5 separate regions of the Homo sapiens genome follow, and all the other regions are linked to region 4. The links are contacts of gene promoters, found by promoter capture Hi-C in blood cells and fetal thymus (Javierre and others, 2016). All regions are on one chromosome and are shown on one strand. The core of a region is centred on a gene start or on the middle of the fragment in contact, and the rest is flanking DNA. Distances in the headings are between cores, read along the strand shown.

Region 1 (2,700 bases), core at 113-2,612, 980 kb before region 4:
CTTTGAGCTCACTGTGCTTTTAAATTTTGTTTTACTTCTGACTGCTTAAAAATTTCCCCCATCTCTGGCAGGGAAGTGGCTCATGCCTGTAATCCCAGCACTTTGGGAGGCCAAGGTGGGCGGATCATGAGGTCAGGAGTTTGAGATCAGCCTGGCCAACATAGTGAAACCCTGTCTCTACCAAAAATACAAAAATTAGCTGGACATGGTGGCACGTGCTTGTAGTCCCAGCTACTCGGGAGGCTGAGGCAGGAGAATCACTTGAACCCAGGAGGCAGAGGTTGTAGTGAGCCTAGACTGCGCCATTGCACTCCAGCCTGGGTGACAAGAATGAGACTCTGTCTGAAAAAAAAAAAAAAATTCCCCCATCTCTTGAAGCCAGCAATGCAAAACAAATATCATTTAAGCAAGACCTAGTTGTTTTGAAACAGGAAGACCTCTCAAACATCTAGTCTCAAGTATTTAGCAGAGAAGTTCCACATATCACTTTTTACCTGTTGCAATCTGGCTTTAACCCCTACTACATGTCTGAAACTACTTATGCCAAGTCACTCAATGTTTTCATTGTTGCCAAATTTAACATGCACTTTTAACTTCATTTCATATGTGAGCCCCCTGCCCTTGTAGTCCCGAATGCTCCCTTTTTCTTGAAACTCTCTTGTTCTTTTGATTGTGTGATATAGTTATCTCCTATATATTCTCCTATCTTGCTGGCTGTGCCTTTTAAGCCTTCTTGGTGAAGTCCTTTTAAATTTTCTACACATACTGATGCCTCAGAAATCTATCTGCAGCTTTCTTCACCTTCTACTTTGTATACTTTCCTGAAATAATTTCATCAACTGCTAGGCTCAGTACCCTGAATTCCCCCCCATCGTGTCTTGCACTTCCAAGCTTTTATACATGCTTCTCCCTCTGCTTGGAGTGTGTCCTCTCATACTTTTAAAAACCAGATTAACTAACAAGTCTTTCTAAGAAAGACTCAACTCAGGTCTGTTCTCCTCCAAGATGCCTTTGCTGACATCTAATCTACATGCTCCCAGAGCACCTTGTATCTACTTCTGCCATTGCATTTTACACACTATATTGTAATCTGTTTACTGATCTGTCTTCCTGACATAGTTATGCTGTATCAGCAGTGTCTAGCACAGGGCCTAGTCCATGGTAGGTAAACAAATGTTTGTCGAATAAATAAAAGAACACCTGAATAAGTAAATGAATGAACGGGTAAGTGATTTTGGAACGGACAATTTGGGGTTTGGAAAGAGGGTAAAGGAGGTGAAAGGAGAAGAAGAGAAATGACTGGTATATTTAAGCAGCTTGTTTTGTTACCCTTGTTTATGTGGAATAAAGTTGTCATTTCATTTCATCAAAAGTTTATTGAGCATCCAGTATGTGCTAGGCACTCTGCTGGATGCTAGTAATACAAAGATGAAGATGAAAACAACACAAAAACAAACCCCACTTCCTTACTTACCCCTCCCCACCCCCAATTTAAGGCAGATTTGGCTTAAGCCTGGCAAGCTGGCCCCTCAGGGATTCAGCACCAGGGTATGGCATGTTCTCATCTCACCCTAACCTTCACCTGTGCATCTCAAGGCTGACCAGCAGGTACTCCTTATCCAAGTCCTGCTGCCTCTTCCACCTTCTTGAGAAACTTTTCCCCTACATGCATTATCTCATTATGGATGAGGCACCTGGGAAGTTTAGGGGAGCTGCGAAGGCACACCTGCTCAAATGAGCCTGGGGAAGTGCCGAGGGACAGGGAGCTGAGACAGGCATGCTGTGGGGTTCAGGGCAGAGGGGGCAAACTAGAAATGTCAGTGCCTTTGGGGCTGAGACAAAACTTGACCTGGTGTGGAGGTGATGGGTAACTGGGGCCTTGGAATTGCTCCATGGGTTGATGGCGAATCAGAGCTGGAGTTTAGGAGACTAGGGATGCAAGGACCCTTGGAGGCATTAAGGAGGAGGGAATGGAATACACAGAGGGCCTCCTTCTCTTTCAGCTTTTTAATTGCCCTCTCTCCTCACACAGTAGATTACTGCCACTCCTATGAACTGTTCAATAGGCGGTGGCATGGGCATGTCCTGGCTACACAGCGGCCCAGCCTCTTTATTTTGATGTTAGTGTGATTAGGGAGTCTGCCCTTTTTCTGTGCCCTGGGACCTGAGCATGTGGGAGCAGGGCAGATGGGTGGCAGGAGGCCAGGGGTTGGATCATGTTCCCCCCAAATGCTGGGAAGCAATAAGCCTCCTCCTCCCCCCACCATTTCTCTGGAGATTAGGACTTATTCTCACAGCTGGAGGAAGCTCAACAACTTTCCTGAGGACAATGATTGTTTGAAAGGCTTGTTTTGTAAGGAAGCCAGGAGGAATATATGAGTTTGATGAGCTAAAACAGTTCCTCATTTGGTCTAGTTTTCGGGCCAGGGGAGTAAGTGAAATTCACTTCTCTATAAGAATAAGCCCATCCATCTCTTTTATTCATGAACAGAGACAGAAAGAGTGCTTGGCATGGCATGCCTCCGAGGGAGGCTGTGGGAGGAGGCCAAGCTGGCAGGCTCGGGTTCTTTGCCCTTGCTAGCGCCCAGGTCAGAGGGAAAAGGAATGTACTCGTACCCTTCCCTCACCACCTTGTAGGTCCCCAGGTACCAGGTGCCCAGGGAAGAAGGCCTTCACAATGATCCCCCCAGCTCAGAACAG
Region 2 (2,700 bases), core at 66-2,565, 580 kb after region 4:
GCTGAAGGAGAGTAGGTGTTGCCTGCAAGCACCAGCACTTACGGCCCTCGCTGCCCCTGGGGCCTCGGTCTGTTCCAACCACTCCTTACACAGCAGACCCTGGCCCCACTGCGTCTCTGCTGCTCAGCAAACCCAGCTCCTTCCGGGGCCGGGCTTGCCCTGCTCCTCTCTGTCTGTAACGCTCTTTCCTGTTCCTCACTCTGCTGGCTCTTCCCGTCAATGAAGGTGCAGCTTCAAGAGCCCTTCAGTGACTCTCCACTACCCACCCCTGCACTTTCTGGATCACTGGGTTCATTTATTATCTGTCACCGTTCTAGAAAGGACAACAAAGACCTTATCTATCTTGGTCATTGTGATATTGCTGTATCACACAGTAGGCGCTAAAGAAATATTTGTTGAATATATTATTTGTTAAATAAAAGAATCTCAGAAGGGGAGTGGGGATGGGGCCGGGGGGACGGTTATCATGGGCTTTGGCTTCTGAGGTCAGCGTTTTAAATCTTGTGTGTGTGTATGTGTGTGTGTATATATGTGTGTACATGTGTGTATATGTGTGTATGTGTATATATGTGTGTACACGTGTGTATGTGTATATGTATATGCATGTATATGTGTGTATGTGTGTATGCGTGTGTATGTGTGTATGTATGTGTATATGTATATATGTATGTGTATGTATGTGCATGTAGATGTACATGTGTGTATACATGTGTATGGGTGTGTGTATACATGTGTATGTAAGTGTGTGTGTGTATATGTGTGTGTATATGTGTGTTTGTGTGTGTGCATGCATGTGTGTGTGCATTGGGTACAGTTGGGAACGGGCTGCGTGAGTAGTGGGAGGGAGGAGGGCAAAGCAGGAGCCCTTCTGAGGCCAGCTGGGACAGCGCTGTAGGAACTCTGCGCTGCTGTGGCATCAGGGTTGGTGCTCCCTGTCTCTCCTCGAGAGAGGGAAGCCTGGCTGAGGGGGGCTTGGTGCTGGGAGCTGATTCTCAGCCTGTTTCTCCGTGGCTGCTGTCCTCTGATTTGTCTGGAACATAGGATGGGAGAGGGCGGCAGGCCGAGCATGGTGACAGATCAGAGACACTTGGCTGAGTGGGGAGAAGGACGTTTGTGGGTTCTTTGATTTTGTTCTGCCGCAGACCCAGGGGCTCTGGGAGAGTCAGTGCTAGGAGTTCCAGCACTGACTACAGTGGAGGGAGGATGCCGAAGCCTCGGGGTGCATCTCCCACACCTTCAGCATCTTCTCCATCCCCAGGTTCCCCGCTGCAGCCCTGCAGTCAGCCTGCCATGTGTCCTGCCCTCCTGCCTCCCTCCCTCCCAACCTTTCTCTCACCAGCCTCCTCCATGTCACAAGCTGAGGCTATGATAGCTGAGTGAAGCCATACACGGCCTGCCATCTTAGAGCTGATGGGGAGGCCCTTGCCACTCCAGGCCAGTGCCCAAGACGGACATGTGTGCAGCCTTGGCACCTCCTGGGAGCTTGTTAGAAAAGCAGACTCTTGTGCTCCACCTCAGACCTCCTAAGTCAAAATCTGCCTTTGAAAAGACCCCAGACAATTCACATACATTTTCAAGCTGGAGGAGCGCTGCTCTAAGGGTTCCGAGGTAGAAATCATGACAAACTGACAAGTGCTATGAAGGGAAGGCTCACTGGACAAAGAGCACGTGTGGGGACCCTTGATCCCTTCACAGGCTGCCTGCTCCCTTCGCTCCCCCGGGGCCGGCCAGAGAAAGGGGCAGACTGCTCCCTGCTTACTAGCTTTGGAGTTACACGATCTTGTTTCAGAACAGCTTCCTTTGTGTATGCCGTTTCTTTAGCTTGGAATGCTGGCGTTCTCCTGGACCACTGGTCTTCTCCTGGGTCACTCTTACACACCCTTTGAGACTTAGTTCAGAGGGCACCCTCTCTGAGCGGCCTTTCTAGAATCTGCCAGTTGGGCCAAGTGTATAGGGCTTCTGTCTATGATCCCACAGCATCCTGGGCATCCCCTGACTCACTAGCTACCACATCCTATGGAAATCTCTCTGTGTGTGTCTCTTCCCTGAACCATGATCTCCATCCGGATCCCCATCTCCCAGCAGAGTGCCTGCCTGCTGCACAGGGCACAGGGTGGCATATGCATTTGCTGAGCTGAACTTGACTTGAGTCGATCACTTTATGAGCCATATGATTGTAGACAAGTTATATAATCCGACAACCTTAATCCTCTTATCTGGGAAGTGAGATAATAAAAATACCTATCTTGCAGGGTTATCATGAGGATTACCTTACAATATGAAAGATACACAGAGAACATTGTAAAAGGCTATACAAATGTAGGTTATTATGTCTAATTTTTAGGAATAATATTTAGGTTTGTGGCTGTGTGAAAAGTGCTGAGCCAAGGTCCTCTCATTTTATTCTCAATATCTTTTGAGGCAGGGACTATTAGGGTCTTCATTTTATAGGTTAAGAAGCTGAGACTCAGAGAGGGCAAATTACTTGGCAAAGACCACACAGCCATAAGTGGTGAAGTTGGAATTTAGACTCGAGATTTTGACCCTACAACATGTTCTGTTGGAGTTAGAGCAGCTCCCAGACTATCCCTGCAGCTGCAGCAGCCCTTCCACTAACCCCTGCCTTTGTCCTGGCCCTAGAGCTCTGCGAAGCGGGCTCTCTGCCTGTCCCAGGGGGCATTCAGACCTGGCAGGTACTCT
Region 3 (2,700 bases), core at 74-2,573, 790 kb before region 4:
AAAGCTTCAAATGCAGACTATGCAGGTGTGTTGTTCTGGCAACTCAAATACCACGAGCTGTGCTGCCTTCAGTTATGTGATTTGCTAGAGTGATGAACAACTCTTGTTAAAGTTCCAAACCACAAATAAGTATAATTTTCCTCTGATTTACATTAGAGTTGCATTCCTGGAAATTTTACTATATTAAACTGTGCCAAAAAATACATTATGTTTATACAAAAACCGGAGTTAGGCTCTACACTCAGATAATTATAAATGAGTATCCTGTGGGATACTCAAAATTTGCACAGGATGCAGGACAATTCTTCGTTGTGAGGACTGTCCCATACATTACAGAACATCCAGTATCCGCAGTCCTGATCTGTAAACCCCAGTAGTGCCTCCAATCAAAGAATAACAAAATACATCTTCACAAATTCCAAAACACCCTAAAACGGGCAGCAACATCTTCTTGGGGAACCACTGTTCTAGACACAGTCTTGCATAAAGAGACATGTACAAGGTGTTTATTGCAGCTTTGTTTACAATAGCAAAACATCAGGAAAAAACCTAAATGTCCATCAATCAGGGAACAGATACAATATTATATATTCATAATGAATACTTAAAATGAATGAAATTGATCTATATGTATTGATGTGAATATATCTCAAAAACAATGTTGAGTGACAAAAACAAGTTGCAAAATGGAACCCACAGTATGATACTACTTGTATTTTTAAAATTAAATACAATCTAAACAGTAATATATATTGTTTCTGACGAACGTATATACAGCAAAAGTATAAAAACATGGGCATAAACAATACATGACAATTTCAAAAGACTATTTGCCTCTGCAGAGGGAGGAAGGAAAGGGAATGGGGTTAGGAGTGGAAATAAAAGGGATCTGAACTAAATCTGTGATGTTTTATTTCTTTAAAATAAAAAACTTGAGCTGGTGTGCCAAAATGTTAATATTTATTAATCTGATTGGTGGAACATAGATATTATACTACCCAATGTACTATTTTCTGTTTTTAAATTTTTCGTGATAATTTTTAATTTTTAAAAAGGTAATGGGCAGCAGGATGCATATGAATTGGGTGACCAGTTAGGAAACTATTGCAATTCTCCAGATAAGAGATGATGAGGGTCTGACCTCCAGTCTTAGCTGTGTCAAGGGAGAAGGTGTTAGAAATGACACAAGTTTCTAGCTTAGTTGACTGAGCTGATGGTACTGCTCTTAAGAAAACAACTATTTAAATTTAATTTGTGCTATTCTGGATATTACACAAATAACCCAGAAGACTTGGACCAACTCTAACAGTTAGAATAGAGGGCAAATGGTAGTTGAAGCTGGCTGGCGCCATTAGAAATGTTGCCCTTCAATCCCCCTTAGTAGCTTAAGAGTTCGTGAGACATTGGATTTATATATGGTATGGCTTTAAAGTAATAAGATAAATATTCCCAAGCTCTTTTAAGAATGGAGCTCATAATTTTATAAGCAAACTATACATTTTCTTACTAAGCATAGAAAAGAAGGGCTGGGTATAGTATAGAGTGCTGCTATAGAGGAAGAGAGAACATCTAGTCATTTTTATCTTATTTAAATGTGAGAATAATATCTGTGATAATTTCCCATATTAGAATAGCTAAATTATTGTTATTGAGTACAATACAATAAAATATAAAAACGGGTTCATGCCATCATTAAACCTTCTTTGAGAAGTGATGGCTTGGCCAACCCGATTTCAAGGGTAAGTCCATTTACTTAATATCTGTGGCATTTAAAGCAGGTAGACTGGAGTGAAAAAAAATAATTTAAATTTGAACAGTTCAGCAGCTGACAACAAAAGCAACTACAGGGCTAATGTTTTCCTTCTGTGCTCAATGCTGTGAGGTTTTTCTCTGAGAGAGTTTGTTCAAAACCTTTTAGATGTGTGTGTTCATTTAATGGTTGTTTCTACATACCCTTTCATCCAGCTGTCAGAGAAAATAGGAATAAATGGACTGATCCCTGCACAGGTAACCTAATGGATTAAAAATACGGTACTCATCACCAGGTTGATCATCATGAGCGAGAATACTAACTGCCATTATAAGATGACTTATAAGATGACTTACTATCTAAGACAAATGTGGATTCCTCAGAGGGTAATGTGGCCTAAGTGCTGCTGCTGGAGGGAGATATCTCACCCATCCCCCGATTTTCACACTGACTCAAGCCCTTGAAAGCAACAGAAAACAGTGGGTTACAAGGAGTGAAGTGCTCCTCTGGAAGAGTCCTTTTCACTTTGCTTTATAGCTGTTTTCCAAACCTTCAAAAATAACGGGGGGGGGGGGTTACTTTCACACTTTTATGTTTCTACTTTAAACACTTCACTATCTTTTGAATTTTAAAATATTAGAATAACGCCTCTACCTTTGTAATTAGATAAAATGCAAGCCTGGGGAAAAAATCAGTTGCCAAGCTCCCAAAATGCCACCGATGTAGCATCTGCTCTTAACACGTTGATAGAAAAAGGAGGATCAGTAAACCTAGGTCTCTTCCTTGCATCCCTCTCCTGGACGGTGTTGTGGGTTGGAAGCGCTGCAGAGCCTCGGTCTATCCGCTCTCTGGATCTCACAGCACTGCAGCCTGGGAACACCCCACTTGAACTCTAAGCTTCTCCCCAACCCTGTTGCAGATTCAAACTGGCGACAGGAAAACAATGCCCC
Region 4 (2,700 bases), core at 190-2,689:
TCTTTAAAGACATTAGAATATTAAATAGTCATTGGGAATCTTGGGAAAGTAATATGGGAAGGTGAAATTAAGTGACATGAATGTATCATAAACTATACAGGATGATCTCAGTACACACAGGGAAAGATCAAAACCTAACGAGTAGTGGGATTAAAGGTAATTTGTATTTATACCTCGACTTTTTATGAGGTCAAAAATTACATGGTGATTTTAACATGCAAAACACTCCAGTGATTATTTGGATCTCAAAGTCCAACATTACCAAAGTCTCCAAAGTTCAACTCCCGTGCTAACTAAAGAACTAGGCCAGGGAGTGAGTCTAGTTGGTCATAAGGCAGATTTGTGGCAAAAACAGGACTTGGTACACTACAGTGCTTTTTCCAGCACACCTTACCCTAATTCAGGGTGAAGTGCAGGAGTTCCCAAGCAGACGTTTAAAGTAACACCCTGGCCAGGGCTGCGAAGTAACCACAGAGAGGGAATTCGTGTGTCCCCTAAGCACCAATTACAAACTAAAACGGCCATCACCAGATGTTCCATACATTGGGCCAGGCGCCGTGGCTCACGCCTGTCATCCCAACATTTTGAGAGGCCAAGACGGGGTGGTGGCGGGGGGGAGGGGGGGTCGCTCGAAGTCAGGAGTTCGAGACCAACCTGGGCAACACAGCGAGACCGTGTGTTAATTAAAAAATTAAAAACTAGGCTGCCAAGATGGCGCACGCCTGCAGTCCCAGCTAGTTGGAGGCTGAGGTGGAAGGATCGCTTGAGCCCAGGAGGTAGAGGCTGCAGTGAGCAGTGATCACGCCACTTCACTCAGCCTGGGCGACAGTCTTAAAAAAAAAAAAAAAAAAGTCCTAATCTCAGGAACCAGTGGGTTAACACATAAATAGCATTCCTCTTGATAAACTTTATATTAATCCAAAGGGAAGAAGAGGGAGTACTGTCCAAAGGATTAGCAGACACGCACTATGATCACTAGAAAGCAATCGTGGTCTGTATGTAAGGCAATCCCCAAAATAATTTGAAAATTGCTGCCACAGCCTCCCACATACTCCTGGGTTCTCAACTTCTACTGTTTTATGAGCACCCAATTCTAAGTGGGGCAGCAGAGCACTTTTGTACTCCACAGTACAAGTACCACTGAAGCTCCCGTCACAACGGAATTAAAGACGACCCTACTGCGGCGAGTTTCCACCGAGAGCTCCAGAAAGTACCAGGCACAAAAGAAAAATACATGGTCTTAAGCGAGGTCTCATTTCCATACGGCAATGCTTTCCTGAAAAGACCAAAGTATGTGAAAGAGGGCAAAAAGAAGACAACAGACAACCGTTCAGCAGTGTGTCCATTTGTCCCTTCCCCTGTGGAACCCAGAAAGTAACCCACTCCAAAAATCCCACACTTACTTTCCGGCAGCCGGCCGCGCCGCGTTTCCGAGAAAGGAAGCTGTCACTGTGCGTCTTCTGCGCAGGCGCCCGAGCCCTCATGGGAGGTGTAGTCCAAGTTTGTGGGAAATGTAGTTCTGAGAACCGAGCTTGGTGCTAGAATCTACCTGAGGTTTTCTAGTCCAGCTACCGTTTCTCCGCCCACAGGGCAGAATCTGGGCCTGTGGCGGGACAGCAATAAAAGGAGGAATTGTAGTGCTACGCTAAAATAATAGAAAAAAGGTAATTTTTCAAATTCTGCTATCCTTATACGAAAACTAAAAGATTGAAGATCTTGGCTCGATTTTATACCTAGTTAAATGAGAAGAAAGTTACCATTGAGAGACAAAAACATTTACTATTAGAATTCAAATTAAAAGCTGAAATGAATATGATAATCTCAAAACAAACGACTAGGTGCCCTGAGAGTGACCGAACAGAGCGGGGAGCGTTGCTTCAGCACCACGGAGAGATCATGACTGCAGTTTCGTGTGGGTTTTTGTATTTTTGCCCCCAATTCCAGAAATGCTGATCAAAATCTCAAAATTACAATTAGAAAACTGGGGGGCGGGGGGGAGGTGGAATTTGGTTCTTTCGTCCAAATTGAGCGGTCATTAAATCATTAGTACCAGGGATCCAGGGATCTATACCGGATTATGCAAACGCATGTAGGACGTAGAGGTTATACCGAAAGGTAATGTTTTTAACAAGAGACCACATTTCAGAATAAAAGCTTTAAAAAGCCTATGTGGAACATCACAGGTATCTAGGGCAGGAACAGCAGTTAGAGCTTGAACAGTTCTGCTTCCTTTCCGCAACTGTGGCATTCGAGGTCATTCGTCATATCAAATTCATCAGATTTTGTCTCCACTTTGCTAACCAATTCGCTAACCTTTCTGACATCTTGTGATGTGGAGGCGGAAATTTCCAGGGAAACCGACACGGGGCGTAAAGCGCGGCGGGGAGTCCGGGGGGCTCCCGCCTGGAGGGCTGTGTGAGCGGCGGGCCGCGGGGCGGCGCGGGGGGCGCTCTCCACTCTGCGGAAGCTGCCCCCTCTGCCCTCCGGTCCGCGCCCTTTCGCCCCGCTCTCTGCCCTCCGCCCCGCTCTCTGCCCTCCGCCCCGCTCTCTGCCCCCCGCCCCGCTCTCTGCCCTCCGCCCCTTCCGCGCGCCACCCAGCCTTCCAGCGCCTGCGCGCCGCACCGCGGTGGTCGCGGGCGCGGACGCGGACGCCTGCCCCCTAAGGAAGCCCATTGGCCAGCGGATGGGGCCAGCACCGCC
Region 5 (2,700 bases), core at 135-2,634, 830 kb before region 4:
CAATTATTTCCAAGCAATTGATCAATATTAACATATTAAATAAATCTAATGATTTCTAGCACCTCTCTTTTTAAAAGATGAAAGAACAAATCTTTGTGGTTTTCCAGGAGCCCTTCCTCTTTTTAAATTAAATATTCACAAACTTATCAAGATTTTGCCAACTTTGGCAAAATTTTAACACATTTAATTGCTTATTTTTAGACTTATTGTTTGATGTACTATAATCCAAGACAAATCAAATTTCCTTTCTACAAACCTAAAATGTATCCATTCAGATTTGACCTTCCCTGTTCCCTTTCTTATTCTGGAACAACCAGTCATTTTTCTTATGTGTAATATTTTTCCTTTTAATAAACAAAAACAGGTTTCAATACCATGTATACAAAGTCATACCTCTCTGCCACGATTGTTCCTAGTAGAGTCTCATTCATGTATATTAGTTATATCTTTTAACCAAAGTAACTAACATTTCAGAGAGAATGGGGAGTGGGGAGGGTGGATCATTATAAACCATCTAGAACACATTGGCATTCTAGAAGGGCTCAGTAATACGCATAACATGACTTTCTCCAGCCTCCAACACTCTTCACTTTCACACTTCTCAAGGTGTGAATTCAGCTACGGTATTCCCCAACATCTCTGGGATTTATGACAGACCTTGGTTGAAATCCTTTCACCACTGTGAGCCTTGACTTTGCTGAGCCCCAGTTTCCTCATCAATAAAAGTCAGATGGGTTCTTGAGGATAAATGCGATAATATAAGGAAACATTCTTGACGTCTTGTGGCTGCTGGAGGGTACTCAACAGGTATCCTTTTACTTCCTTCCAGATAAGTTTAGATTTGGATTCCTATCAAACACTAAATGTCACGTAGTTCTTCTGTAAGTACATTATTATGCTGAGCTCTGAGGCCTGCAAAGACAATCAAGACAGGGTTCTACCTTCTTGGAACTAAGAATCAAGCTGGAGAGGGGCTGTGTACACACAGTCAGCAATTTTAGAAGGCCCTGCTCTACTTATTGAGTGCCAAAGGATGGCATTTCCTATGTGCCATGTCATTCAGAGGACCAGCGAGGGGAATGCAGAAGTCGGTTGGGGAGATTTTGAAGAAAACTGACTTGCTGAGCACTTAACACATAAAAGGTTAGAGATTATATGTATACATTGCCTGGTATACAGGAAGCATGGAATACATGGCGGCTTTTACTATCATTATTAATGATGGTGATGTTATTATTACAGATACATATTAACCCAATTCACCTTTCTTGTGCTAAACAAAATACAGGCCAGGGTGCAGACAAATAAAAATAAAGACTTATAGTCTGAAAATGAGAAATCAAATCTCTGTCACATTTAACTGCTTTCACATGTCCCCAAGGAGGGCATTTAAGAAGTGAAGAAGACAGAATAGGAAGCTGAAAGTGGACTGGCCCTGGGCCTTGGACTCCTCCTCTGTAAAATGAGGATAATAATAATACCTGTATCACACGAGTGTTTTGAGGTTTAAATGAGGTACTACGTGTAAGGTACTTAGGTCAGTGCCAGGCTGATATGAAACACTGAGTAAACACTAATGATTGACTATATTCTATTTGTTTTTCCTACTACTTTGTGCCAGGCATTGTTTATTTGTAATTTTTGTGGAACTGCAAGGTGAATGTTAGCTTCCCTGTGGAACATATGAGTGTAATGAGGCACAGAGCAGTTATGTAAGCCTGTCCAGCACCACACAGCTGATAAATGACTGAGCTGGAGTTGGAATCAAGATTAGTCTGACTCGTAAGCCCATGGTCTTTCCGCTGCCTTCCTAATGATAGTGTTGGGTGGGGAAAAGATTACATGGCCATTTGGCCTTGGACAAATTACTTAACATCTCCCAGGCTCAATTTCCTTATCTATGAAATGGAAAAAATGATGTACCTATATCACGGGGTTTTGGTGAAATTAAATGAGAAGCTGCTTAAAGCACTTAGCCCAGTGTCTAGCGTAGTTGGTATTGGCTAGGTGCTTATAAATTTCTGTGGAGGGAGAGAATCATCTCCATTAGGAGAAGAAGGAAGTCTTTGACTTGGATCTGGAGGTGTTCTGAGCAGAGGTCACAGAGCCAGCAAAGGCATGCAAGTGGAGACATGGCCTGTCCCCTGTCTCTGAAGTAGTAACATGTAGCTCCAGCTGGTAGGAACAAAAGGTGCCCCTGGACAGGAGGCTGGGAGTCATGTGGCGCCAGGTGTGTGGAGACAGCTGCAGACATCCAGGCAAGAGTCAGAGATGGCGGAGTTTCTGTCCAGGAAGATGTTGCTCTCCTCCTCCTGTTAGGCCTTCCTCGTCAGGATGACAATGAATGGCTTGTCCATGGCGTTTCAGAGCCACAGAGCACCTGGAGGTTCCCCAGCCTGGAGCCTGGCTGGTTCCTGCCTTTTGTACCAGTGTCTGTGTGGGTGCGTCTGGGGGCAGCTGGCAGCATGGGAGATGACTGTGGCTGGTGCTTATGGGGCTGGGCCCATTTCCTGGGGCCCTCTGAGGGGGATGGCCCAGAACGTGCAGAAGAAGAGCCTGTGGGAGGAAATACCAGGGTGACCACAGCTGGATGAGCAGGAATGGGCAGGAGGGTGAATTGGGCAGGCAGGAAGAGCAGGAGCTGTGAGCTCCTGTGGTGCCATTTTTCCCACACCTCGATCTTCCCCTGTGAGCTGCAAA

The links. Contacts are between HindIII fragments. The CHiCAGO score rates a contact against its expected background, and 5 or more counts as called.
Region 1: a contact is called between the fragment with the promoter of HEPN1 here and the fragment with the promoter of PUS3 in region 4, in 2 of 17 cell types (naive CD8 T cells and activated CD4 T cells). The highest score is 5.7, in naive CD8 T cells.
Region 2: a contact is called between a fragment that was not itself captured here and the fragment with the promoter of PUS3 in region 4, in 3 of 17 cell types (fetal thymus, non-activated CD4 T cells and activated CD4 T cells). The highest score is 6.8, in fetal thymus.
Region 3: a fragment that was not itself captured here is called in contact with the fragment with the promoter of PUS3 in region 4 in 6 of 17 cell types (naive CD8 T cells, total B cells, total CD8 T cells and 3 more); the score reaches 7.6 in naive CD8 T cells.
Region 5: a fragment that was not itself captured here is called in contact with the fragment with the promoter of PUS3 in region 4 in 1 of 17 cell types (total B cells); the score reaches 5.1 in total B cells.

Annotation. Positions count from the first base shown.
Region 1 is chr11:124,917,888-124,920,587 of GRCh38, forward strand. It overlaps HEPN1 (hepatocellular carcinoma, down-regulated 1), which reads left to right and starts at 1,363. Exons shown (of 1, transcript NM_001037558.4): 1 at 1,363-2,700. The coding sequence starts at 1,864. The coding sequence ends at 2,130. It overlaps HEPACAM (hepatic and glial cell adhesion molecule), which reads right to left. Exons shown (of 7, transcript NM_152722.5): 7 at 1,318-2,700. All of the region lies in intron 1 of LOC107984406 (a long non-coding RNA gene), which reads left to right. The HindIII fragment of the contact is 3,231 bases long and covers 890-2,700 here.
Region 2 is chr11:126,478,004-126,480,703 of GRCh38, forward strand. All of the region lies in intron 4 of KIRREL3 (kirre like nephrin family adhesion molecule 3), which reads right to left. Among named protein-coding and RNA genes, the nearest start is that of KIRREL3-AS1, 64 kb to the right of the region's middle. RefSeq lists an enhancer at 895-1,396. The HindIII fragment of the contact is 3,515 bases long and covers 1-2,700 here.
Region 3 is chr11:125,108,538-125,111,237 of GRCh38, forward strand. All of the region lies in intron 1 of TMEM218 (transmembrane protein 218), which reads right to left. Among named protein-coding and RNA genes, the nearest start is that of TMEM218, 1.7 kb to the right of the region's middle. The HindIII fragment of the contact is 2,643 bases long and covers 3-2,645 here.
Region 4 is chr11:125,901,767-125,904,466 of GRCh38, forward strand. PUS3 (pseudouridine synthase 3) reads right to left here and starts at 1,440. Exons shown (of 4, transcript NM_031307.4): 1 at 1,404-1,440. It also overlaps a transcript of DDX25 not described here. The HindIII fragment of the contact is 3,679 bases long and covers 1-2,152 here.
Region 5 is chr11:125,067,527-125,070,226 of GRCh38, forward strand. All of the region lies in intron 1 of SLC37A2 (solute carrier family 37 member 2), which reads left to right. Among named protein-coding and RNA genes, the nearest start is that of SLC37A2, 5.6 kb to the left of the region's middle. The HindIII fragment of the contact is 4,165 bases long and covers 1-2,700 here.